Linked DNA regions of Homo sapiens: region 2 is linked to region 1. Evidence: promoter capture Hi-C in 16 types of primary human blood cells and fetal thymus (Javierre and others, 2016). All regions are on one chromosome and are shown on one strand. Each heading gives the region's core, a stretch centred on a gene start or on the middle of the fragment in contact. The rest is flanking DNA. Distances are from core to core; before and after follow the strand shown. Region 1 holds the start of NRG2 (neuregulin 2). Region 2 has its middle 25 kb from the start of PSD2.

Region 1 (6,186 bases), core at 2,547-5,046:
GGTCTTGCTCTTCCAGAAAGACCCCTGTCTACCTTTCCCCACCTTAGATCACAGACTTCAAGTCAACATTTCATGGTGGAAACGAGCCATTTATGAGGACTGATAAGAAGAGGTCCAGTGTGACCTCCTGCATTGATGCTCCTGAGGCCAATTTTTAAACACAATATTATCCCTCCATATTTTGCCCCCCTCCAAAAAAAAACCCACGGGCTTTCTAGGTGACTTCCCAGAGAACCACACCTCTCAGAACCTACACACACTCAGACCTGAAACTAGCTAAACAAAGCAACAATGCAACCTCAGTTGCTCAATGTAACGGCCATGACGACAGTTTCCAAGTGCCAGTTTCCCTATTTTGCAATGGGCAAATCTGCTCCAAGGAGAAAATGTTCCCAATGACCCTGTGGCCCAGAGGGCTTTCTTTAGAATAGAAAACAGAAAATGAATTTGTTAGTTATTTCCTGCTAAGCACAAGGACAGTGTTGTGGTTAGTTAGGATGATTTTGTTTCCTTATTTAATATAGCATTACCAGTACATGTTTTCTTTAACCACATAGTAGAAAACAAGAAAATGCAGTTTATGCTCTTCTGTTATATTATCACCAATTCCACAAGTCTCACAAATATGTCCTTTAATTTCTAATCCCCTTATATAAGGCTCCCCAAAATGGTACCTATTTATATACTTCCCTTTGAATATCAATTCAAAGCAATTTTTTTTTGCATTCTAAAATGTTTACTGCCATACACATTCCTGATCCTTGATAATTTGTGATATGTGAGGGCCCTTCCTTTACCAGTGATTGCAGTTCTAAATGTATCTTTTTAAGAACTATACTACACATGCTATTTTGATAATATGAGATGATCATAACCTAGAAACAGACCATATTTCTGCCCCTCAAATCTTTCATGATTTCTGCATTCAACTGTTAAGCTACTGAATACCCACTAGAACAAACAATGTGTAATTGATAAGGTGTATTGTGTTGGGGGAAGGAGAAAGTAGGAGGAGGGAGACAAGGGAGCAGAGAAGCCAGTTACTCTATGGGGTTATCTGACAAAGACCATCAAGTCCTCAGCGGCCCAGACTAGGGATTATGTGGAGATGTACACTGTGCAAATGCAGGAGCAACTCACCAACAACCAAACAGAAGCTGTCCTTGGACAAGATTCAATAAATATTTTTACTATCTATTTTCCACTGTACAATACTGTTTCACAGCTCCCCAAGGCATCTCAGAGTATTTTAATACTCCCCAAGTATCAAAATACTTAATAGAATAAAAAATTAGAAATTCTTAGCTGGTCTCTACTTGTCTTTATAAAACATTTCAGAACATAAAACCAATAATAAAAAGCAGTCAACAATATTCCTAAGGATAATGTCAGAGCGATAAACTGCTGTTATCCCCCAAAGTTTTCCCCTCCTTATTAAGACATTGCCAAGATTCTTCTCATTAAAGTGATCACAGTTTAACATAGTTAGTGTCTAGATATACTCCCATCACTAAACTCCTAAAATTTGCCTCCTGAAGGGGGTGGGGGAGGAAAGCTTCCAAAAATCATAGGTATCGATCTAGAAAGATGAAGGCAGCAAAACTTACTATAAGCTGTTACACATATTTTGCTACTCAAACAAAGCCTGTCTACACTACCCAGAATCAGTTGGTAAAACTGGTAAACATACCAACTTCTATGAGAGTACAGGACATCTATCATAATTCAGCGATTACACAGTCCAGCAAGTCATACCGCATGCCAACAAATTCAGCTTTAGTTGGGACAAAACGAAACCTCAATTTGAATAAGCACGAGACAGGCTTACACCAAATACTCCAGTGTGGGACAATTTGATTTGAAATATCTTACTAAGAAGTAAGTACTGGATTCAGGGACAAGAAGAAAAAGCTCTTAGACTGACATTTCTTTGACTTTTGACATGGGAGACTTCCATTCCCAGCTGCAGAGATCTACAGATTTCAGTGTTTTGTTTCTAATCACCTGCATTCCTGTGCAGCATCCAACATCATGAAGATGAGAGATGCAGTCAAATACATCCGGCGAGTAAGACGTTAGAGCTGAACTTAAAGCATTCAGCAGAAGTTACTCTCTTTCATCATCATCACAATCAACAGACCTTGTAATTCCCCCAGAAACAGCTAAAAAAAAAAAAAAAAAAAGGTGTCTGCTTGCTAGTCTTAAGAGAAGGATGTGCTACCTGCTTAGCAAAGACAGGCAATCACGATGAAGAAAAAAACTGGAGCCACATGGAGGACGGAAAACAGTAGCAGAAAAAGTCCAACTCTGCCTGCGCCAGCGGTGTGGATGAGCAGAGCAACGAGCCCAGGAGAGGAAGGAGGGGGCGGGGGCGACCATTCCCTAGGAGAACTTGTAAGCGGAGGCCTTCACAGCCTGGGAGTCTGCCCAGCTGCTCCCGCAGACCCTGCCAGCCTGGGCACGGCAGGCCCGCGGCAGCAGGGCAGGCAAGGCCTCCGAGGGTCACTCCTGACTCACTGAGCCTCAGGCCAGCACCGCCAGGACCTCTCCGTTTTTCCTTCCGCTACTGGGCTATGATGGCAGCTTTCCAGCCCCACATGCCATACATCAGCCGCAGATCCCCGCTGGCACAGGCCAGCGCCTCCCTCCGCCCCCCACCCCTGGCACACTTTGAGCCTGATCCTTCTTCTCTCCAACCCCAACCCCCTCACCCACCCGTGCCAGGCGCCCTGCCCAGGGGCGGCCCCACCCCCCCAGCGCCCGGACGCTGCCAGGCCCGGGCACCTGCAGCACCTCCCCGCCCCACCCCCATTCTCCACCACCTCGCCCCTCCCCCCTTTCTCCAGCAAAGGGAGGGGGCGACTCACCGCAGTCAGTGCACAGGATCTTGCCCACCTCTTTCTTGAGATTTTTGCCGTTGGTATCGAGGGGGGCAAAGGCCGTCTTAAAGACTAAGGGCTGTTCCGTGGGCTCCAGGAAAAAGATGTAGCGCTGGTTCCTTTCGAGCGGCACACAGGAGCCCACGCTGATCACCTGCTCGCGCTGCAGCCCCCCGCTCCGGAGCGGCCACTTGTCCAGCACCTTTACCAACGCCACCCGACCCGAGGCGGGCGGCTCTCGGGTGCTGTTGGAGCTGGAGCCGCCGGCTGGGACCAGCCCCTGTACCTTGCCCTCCACCACCACGGGTGCCTTGTACGCCTGGTCCTGCACTGACTTGAGGCTGGGCGAGTAGCAGGCGAGCGACACACCGAAGAGCAGCATGGAGAAGCCGGGGGCCGGGTCGCGCCTCATGCCGCCGGCGGCTGCGGCTCGCGAACGGGCGGCGGCTCTCCGGGCTGCGGGGCTGCGGGGCTGCGGCTGTTGCTGCGGCCGCGGCTCTGGGGGCGCAGCGGGACGAGAGATGCTGCTGTTGTTGCTGCTGCTCCTGCTGCTGCTGCCGCTCTCGCTGCTGCTGCTGCTGCTGCTGCTGCTCCTCTCGCTGCTGCTGCTGCTGCTGTCGCTGTAGCTGCTGCACCGACCCTTCTCCAGTGGCGGCGGCGGCAGCGCTGAGCAGCAAACCTGCCGCATCTGGCCAGGCCATTTGGGGGGCTCCGCCGCTCAGCCGCCGCCGCCTTGGGAGGGGAAACAGAGCCCGCTGGAAAACCGGAAACAGCGTAACGTTAGCGCCTCTTAGCCCTCCACCGGCAGCCCGGGGAGGTGGCCCAGCTAGGGCAGGGGGCAGGCGGCAAGCGGGCCGCGATGCGCAGCGCGGCGCAGCGCAGCGCTCCCACCCTGTGCGCCAGGACCTGGAGGAGGATGCGGAGGATGGGACGCCCGCCCACTTGCTCTCTCGCGCCCCCTCTGCCCCCGGACCGAGTAGGGAGCGCGGCTTCTGCAGGGGAAGCTTGGGACTGCACTGCTTTAGTGCCCGCCTTCAGCCCGCAGGGGCGCGGGAGGAATCGTGCCACCCTTTGCTCCCGGGATTTATCGGCATGACAGTGGGGGTGGTGCGTGAGGAGAAGGCGAAGAAGAGATAACGGGCTCCTGGCACCATCCTATGAACGTGGTAATGGGACGCAGGGCGTGCCCCCTGCCTTTGGCCAGCAGCTGTAGGAGCCAGAGAGGTTGCCATGGCCAGGGTGGCCGGCCAGCCTCTCGCCTCTTGGGCTGTCCTCTTTCCTAGGAGGACCCTGGAGCCCAGCCCCTAAATGATACCACGTGCTCGGTCCTGCCACCGCCTGGTGAACGCTGGATATTCGACTTGAGGTGGGGGAGAATCCCAGCCCCGTCATTTTGGAAAGAGTTGGGCCACAAGGTGTCTTGTCTTAGCATTGAGGACACCCAAGCAGAGGTGGTAGCTGAGAAAGGGCCCAGTCCCCAACACTCTGGGCTTTCTTCAGCGGCCACGTGGGGATCTGGCTGAGCACTGTACAACCTCATCTTTTAAAAATCTGATCTCTAAGAAAGGTGGGGGGCTTCTTGGGAGCCAACAGAGAGCCAGAGCCTGTCAGGGCCAGAGGCTGCTCCATAAAAAAGGTTTTTTTTGTTTTGTTTTGTTTTGTTTCCAAGGCTGATGCTTGCAAGAGGCAGAAGAGTTTGCTGCACTGGAGCCAGCATCTGATTTAAAACACACACACACACACACACACACACACACAGGTCCATAATCCATTAGCCTATCAATGAGGGTCCAGGGAGTTTTCAACACCCAGCTTTTAACCTTGAAGGATGTGGAGCTCAGGAATGCCAGTGAGCTCTTGGGGAATTTTATACCGCACTGGGCTCCACAGGAAACTGGTCCAAGGATGAGTGACTTAGGCTAGGACTGCTATTCTGGAAAGGAAGTAGAGAGAGCTACACCTTTCCTCCTAGCTAAGAGACATCTTAAACTCAATACATCCAAAGCCAACATCATTATTTCTTCCACTTCACTCCAAATCCCCTATAATTATTAATGCCACTGTTTTATTCTTTTAGACTACATCAATCCATTACAATAAGTCCCTTCATCTCATCTTTTATTCTTCCTCATCCAATTAATCACCAAGGCCTTTGGGTCTCTCTTTTAAAATAATCTCCAATTTATCTACTTCCACTCCAACTCTGCTGCAAATACCTTAAGTCCAAGCCCTCATCATCTCTCACCTGGACAACTTCTAAGCCTTCTAACTGGTCTCCACTCCTTTCACCTCATCACCTATCTCCAGTCCTACCAATGCCAGAGTGATCCTTCTAAAAATAAAATGTAAGTACAATTTGGCCATGCTACTGCTCTCAGAAGTTAAGTTCAAACTCCTCAGCAAGGCTCTTCATGGGCTCCCTTTGCCTAGCCAGCTTCATATCCTGAGAGCCAACCCCCCACTCTAGCAATCCTCAGCACTTCATGCTCTTTCTTGGTGTGCTTCTGCACATGATGTCTCTTGTGTCCAGAAAGCCTCACCTCCACCTTGACCACATGGAAAACTTATTTTCCCAAGGCCCAGCTCAGCATTATACCGCATCCCCCTTCCTACATATCCACCTCTACTCCCACCAACACATACATGATGGAATTAATCCCTTCCTCCTCTGTATTGCCATGAGCTTCACACATAGTATTACTGTTGGGATACTGGCCCATACCGTATTTCAAGCAGCCATTTAATGGGTCTGCATCTCCCATCAGGCCAGGCACGTTAATGTCAGGGACTATATATATCCTATTCATCTTTGGATTCCTATTACCTCCAACACAATGCCTGGCATAAAATAAGGATTAGCAAATCTCCAGTGAAAGAAGGAGAGAAGGAAGAAAATAACTGAAAATCGGCACGCTTAAAGGCATCAAGCCAATCTTCTTGGCTCCTTCAGTGTCCCCCATTTCATTTTCATAGATCACAGACCTCATAAATCACAAAACATCACCATAAGGAAGATAGCGACATCCACTCTTTCATTTTACAATGAAAGAAAAAGTCCCAGAGGGGATAGGGGACTTACTCAACATTTCACACAGCCAGGACTGAACTCAGTCTTCTGTTCCTGAGACCAGGGTCATAGTGAAGAGCTTGTGCTCTGGAGCCCAGCAGAGCTGGGTTTTAAAGCAACTCTGTGACTTACCAACTTTGGGATGAGTCTATTTCACTCTCTAGGCCTTAGTTTCCTTATCAGTATGAAGGAGAAAATAATAGGGTCTACTTCGTAAAGCTGTTTTTTGCTCAGTATGTA
Region 2 (5,876 bases), core at 1,162-3,661, 270 kb before region 1:
AGGGGGAGGAAGAGGAGGGAGAAAGGATAGGACAGGCCCCAGCTGGGAGAGAGTTCTCTCCCAGACAGGCCAAGAAAAGAGGACCTCTGGACTCCAGGCTGAGAGGCCAGTGGGCTGGTCACCCTGGCTGCGGTTTAGATGTGTGTAGTGGGGGAGAGGAGGGCATAAAAAGAGAATGTGACCCACTCACTGCCCTCTGTTTCCTCATTTGTGTAACAGGTATAAAAACACCTTCCTTGGCCAGGCATGGTGGCTCAAGTCTGTAATCCCAGCACTTTGGGAGGCCGAGGTGGGTGGATCGCCTGAGGAAGGGAGTTCGAGACTAGCCTGACCAACATGGAGAAACCCCCGTCTCTACTAAAAATACAAAATTAGCTGGGCTTGGTGGCGCATGCCTGTAATCCCAGCTATTTGGGAGGCTGAGGCAGGAGAATTGCTTGAACCTGGGAGGCAGAGGTTGCTGTGAGCCGAGATCAAGCCATTGCACTCCAGCCTGGGCAACAAGAGCAAAACTCCATCTAAAAAAAAAAAAAAAACAACACCTCCCTCCCTCCTGGGCTGGATGGGAGTAAAAAAGTGAGGTCAGGAATGTAAAGAGCCAATCGGGCCTGCAACATGGTGGGTGCATCATGCCTCTCAGTCCCTCCACCCTGGACTAACTGTCTGATCTGTAAGACAAGACAGTAGCTCATGCAGAGTCCAGACTCCCACAGCCTGTGAACTCATGCGTTCAGTCAACAACATTATTGAGCACCTACTACGTGTTGGGGTCTGGGGCTATTGCCCTGAACAGGAGCCAGTCCCTGCCCTCATGGAATTCTGTCATTGGTGGAGGGTAGGGGAAGATGAGTCACCAGGCAGTGATGTTGGAGAAGCACAGGGCCTGTGACCCAGCCTGGTGGGTTGGGGAAGACTTCCTGAAGGAGGTGATATTCATGCCAGGACCCAGAGGGAGTGTGCATAGTCTGAAGAAGGAGCATGGTGGGAAGAGGGCTCCAGGCAAAGGGAAGAACAGGCACAGAGCCTAAGACCCAGGGCAAGCAGGGCTACGGCTGCAGCAGAGCAGGTGGCGGCGGGGGTTGGGGGAGAGGAGGACGGGCCTCAGGCCTCAGGGATAGGGCTGTGGGTATTTTCCTGACAGCAAAAATCCAGAGAAGCTTCTAGACAGGGGTGGCATGGTCAGAGTGCGATAAGTCCCAATGGAGGGCACTCAGGGCCTCCATGTGACCTGCTACCTCTATGCCCTCATCTCTCCCAGCTCCTCTGTGGGGGGCAGCCAGGCTGTAGCACTTGTGGCTCCTCAGGCTTCCCACCTTCCTTCATTATAAAGACTTCTCCCCTGCCTGAACTGCCCTCCTGTACTGAACCTCACCTATGGGCAGGGGACTGTGGTGGCTTGAGTTCTCATCTGTCCAGCACTTGCCCAGCCCTTCAGGGACACACCTTTGTTCCCTAAAGGTGAAGTGAGTCATAGATGCCCCACCTTCACCTCCTACCTGGCCATGGGTGGCCTTGTGACCCAGGCTGGGTCAGTCATTGCACTTCGGACTCAAGACACTGATGGTGGCAGTGGGGGGCAGTGCCCTGAGTTGGGCCAGCCACAGTCCTCCTTGGAAGTTTCCATCTGGCTTGCGGTGAGGGTGGAGGTGGGGCAGCTTCATTGACGTGGGGTCACACAGGGCCCCATGCTCACCAGGGCCTGCTTACCTTAATGCTCTGCTGTAGCTGTCTTGAAATGTCTCATAATTTCATCTTTGAACTTGTGTTTTGTAAGTGGGGTCCAGTGGGACAGTGGAGCATGCGGTACACAGAGAGGTAGAACCTGGGTGTCATGCGGGCCGGCTGGGGCTCCTGTGTGCATGCAGTGCTGGTGATGCCCGTGAGCACAGGATTCTGATGACCCCACCACATGTGGGGGCTCAGCAAGACTCAAAGTGAGTGTAAGGTAAGCTTGTTATGTCTACAACTGAGTAAGAGGAACGCTGACAGCCCTGAGGGACCTCACCATCCATTTCAACCAGAACTTGCCAGATGCAAGAAGAAGGCAATTGTGTGCTAAGAAACATGAACAGGGCCTGTCTTGGTGACTCACGCCTGTAATCCCAGCACTTTGGGGAGCTGAGGCAGGTGGATCTCCTGAGGTCAGGAGCTCGAGACCAGCCTGGCCAACATGGTGAAACCCCATCTCTACTAAAATACAAAAATTAGCTGGTCGTGGTGGCAGGCGGACTATAATCCCAGCTGCTCAGGAGGCTGAGGCAGGAGAATTAGGAGAATTGCTTGAACTGGGGAGTCGGAGGTTGCAGAGAGCTGAGATCGCGGCACTACACTCCAGCCTGGGCAACAGAGCGAGACTCCGTGTCAAAAAAACAAACAAACAAACAAAAAAACATGAATGGCCCAGGAACCCTGCTATAGCCTTCTTCCTCATGTTATTTCGCTGGATAAGCCAACCGCTGACACTAATCATGATGAGCTAGGACAGGGACAGATCAGGCAACCTGTAGTTCCTTTCCTTTCAGCCCCTCCTCACACATCATAAGCTAAAAGCAGAGCATGTTGAGAGAATGTGCATAAGTCAAGAAAAGAAATGAAAACAGTTGAGTAAGTTTTGTGCCCTTTCCCACCATTTCAGGTAAGATGAAATACACATGTGTGCACAAGGTACTGAATACAAATTATACGATTTTGATGATTCTGCATATGAGTTAAACACCCTTATATTTGCATTTAAAACTGACATTGCACAATAGAAAGATGAATAGTAAAATTCATGCTAGTCATTTAGATTTTTCATTTTTCTTTACTTAAAATGATATTTAACAAATACAAACTCATGACAAATCTAGAGGCAGACCAACAGAAAAGAAGCGAAGCTTTATATATCTCTAGGTACAGATACATAGATACTTTTATATTTTAGCGCCTTTATTATTAGGCATTTCCCTCCTGCTTTTTGAACAAGAAGCTCCACATTTTCATTTTGTGCTGGGTCCCATGTTGTGACTGGCCCGGGTGGCGGAGTCTCTATTTTAGGGTGAGGAATTGCGGGCCTGGGGACCCGGGGCTGCCCCACCCCTGGGCACTCCCTCTGTGGTGGAGCCGCCGTGGTGGGTAAGGCCCTGAATAGCCTGAGCGCAGGAGTGCAGGCAGGAAGCAGGCCTGCTTTCTTTTCTTTTCTTTTCTTTTTTTTTGAGATGGAGTCTCACTCTGTCGCCCAGGCTGGAGTGCAGTGGCACAATCTCGGCTCACTGCAAGCTCCGCCTCCTGGGTTCACGCCATTCTCCTGCCTCAGCCTCCCGAGTAGCTGGGACTACAGGCGCCCGCCACCACGCCCGGCTAATTTTTTGTATTTTTAGTAGAGATGGGGTTTCACCGTGTTAACTAGGATGGTCTCGATTTCCTGACCTCGTGATCCGCCCACCTCGGCCTCCCAAAGTGCTGGGATTACAGTCTTGAGCCACCGCGCCCCGCAGCCTGCTTTCCTTTCTATAACATTCTTCCCAGCTGGTGCAAGGTCTGGCTGTCCCTGGAGTCTGGCTCTCTCCCTGGTGTGCCACAGGCTATTTAGGGTCTGGGGCAGTGTAGCGCATATGGGGAAGTAAGTTCTCTCAGACTTCAAGATGCTGTTGCCCCTGGCCTTGGGGGGCATCTTCACTGACCACTGGGCTGCCATCCAAGGACCACGGTCCAACCCCTTCCAAGGGCAGGGCCTGCAGAGGGGCCTCAGAAACGGTGTTGCGGGACTGGAGATGGGCTTCTGTCTCCTCGCTCCCAGCACCCTTCCCCAGCCAGGTGAGGGAGAGGTAGTGGGTTCTCTCCTTGGCTTGCTCTTAGGGGACAATGAGAGGAGGAACGGAAAGCCCTTGGCAGGGATCAGTTAGCAGCCAGGCCTCCTGTGCGAGGCCCTCTCCCTAGAGGCAGAGGGAGTGGGAGTGGGAGTGGAAGGGCAGCTGGGTGGGAGGAAAAAGCGTCCCCAGACTGGGTCCTTGAAGGCAGCACAGGGGGCATTAGATCCCTCCTCCCGCTCTATGACTTTGACTCTAGTCCCAGACCCAGCAGCTCAGCCAAGTTCTCTGAGCCTGTTTCCTTCTTTATATTGTGGCTAATGACTATACCTGCCCCAAGGACTGTTGAGAGCATTCTCCGAGCCGATCTGTAAAAAGCATTTGGTGCAGAGCTGGGCACTTAGAGGTCTCGGTTCATGGAGCCCCTCCTCCCCTGCTGTGAAGAGGAGGTTGGTGATCCAGTGAGGCCTCCCTGCTCTGCGACCAGGAACACCTTCTGTCCCCTCTCCTTCTCCCTGTCCCAGGGCCTCCTTCTTTCATCTCTCCTCCTCGTCCCCTCCTTTTCTCTCTGCTGTTCCTCTAGCATGCCACACTCATGCCCAGCACAGGGCCTTTGCACTTGCTGTTTCTTCTGTCTGCAGCTCAGGTCTCCTGGATGCTTGATGACTGACTCTTGATCATTCCTTGGGTCTTTGCACAAATGTCACCTCCTCTGGGATGGTATGCCTGACTGCTCCAGTTGAAACTCCTCCTCATGCAGCCACTCTGTTACATTTCACTTTTTAATTTTCTGCACAGCAGGTAATAGGTGATAATATTCTTGTTTATTTGTTTGTTCAGTATCTTTTTCCCCTCCCCGCAGGCTGTGAGCTCCAGGTGAGTGGGCACCTTGTCTGTCTTGGTCCCCAAGTCTTCAGTGACTAGCAACACACAGTAGGTGCACCAGGCAGATACAGGTACTGTTCTTATGGAGGTCACAGTTTAATGAATGAGGCAGGATTGAAAAAGCAAAGAAATGTTTTGATACATATTTTTTTATTTACGGTAAAATATACATAACAAAATTTATCATCTTAACCTTTTTTAAGTATACAGTTCAGTGACATTAAATACATTCACATTATTGTGCAACCGTCACCACCATCCATCTTTGGAAGTCATTCATCTCGCAAAACTGAAACTCTGAACTCATTAAAACAGTAACTCCCCCACCTCCTTTCCCAGCACCCTCCACCCCTGCAACCACCTACCTTCCTTTCTTCCTACCTTCCTTCCTTTCTTCCTTTTTTTAGATTGGGTCTCGCTTTTGTCACCCGGGCTGGAGTGCAGTGGCACAATCATAGCTCACTGCAGCCTTGAATTCCTGGGCTCAAGGAATCCTCCTGCCTCAGCCTCTTGATAGCTGGGACTACAGGCACACACCACCACACCCTGCTTTTTTTCATTTTTTTCTAGAGACAGAGTCTTGCTATGTTGCCCAGGCTGGTCTTGAACTCCTGACCTCAAGCAGTTCTCCCATCTTGGCCTCCCATTTTACTTTCTGTCTCTATGAATTTGACTACCCTAGGTACATCATATAAATGGAATCATACCATATTTGTCCTTCTGTGACTGGCTTATTTCATCAGCATAGTGCCTTTGAGGCTCACTCATATTGTCTATGTCATAATTCTTTCCTTTTTAAGGCTGAGTAGTACTCCACTGTGTGGATAGACCACCATTCACCTGCTGATGGGTTCTTGGGTGGCTGCCACCGCTTGGCTGTTGTGAATGATGCTGTTATGAATGTAGGGGTATAAGCATATCTTCGAGTTCTTGTTTCAATGCTTTTGGGAATATATCCAGATGGGGGAATTGGTGGATCATATAATTTTATTTTTAATTGTTTGAGGAACCACCATACTATTTTGCATACTGGCTGAACCCTTTTATATTCCTACCAACAGTGCACAAGGGACAAGGGTTTCAATGTCCCTTGATGTAATGTCCCAATGACATTGAGGGACATTGTCCCTCAATGTCCCAAGGGTTTACATCATAGCTCACTGCAGCCTTGAACTTCTAGACTCAGGTGATCCTCCCACCTCA

Evidence for each region. The method cuts DNA at HindIII sites, captures the fragments that hold promoters and counts their contacts. A CHiCAGO score of 5 or more calls a contact.
Region 2: a fragment that was not itself captured here is called in contact with the fragment with the promoter of NRG2 in region 1 in 1 of 17 cell types (M1 macrophages); the score reaches 5.2 in M1 macrophages.

Annotation. Positions count from the first base shown.
Region 1 is chr5:140,039,503-140,045,688 of GRCh38, forward strand. NRG2 (neuregulin 2) reads right to left here and starts at 3,797. Exons shown (of 10, transcript NM_004883.3): 1 at 2,868-3,797. The coding sequence starts at 3,567. RefSeq lists enhancers at 1,700-1,889, 3,262-3,931 and silencers at 3,230-3,439, 3,600-3,939. The HindIII fragment of the contact is 2,328 bases long and covers 1,554-3,881 here.
Region 2 is chr5:139,768,203-139,774,078 of GRCh38, forward strand. It overlaps a transcript of PSD2 not described here. Among named protein-coding and RNA genes, the nearest start is that of PSD2, 25 kb to the right of the region's middle. The HindIII fragment of the contact is 926 bases long and covers 1,949-2,874 here.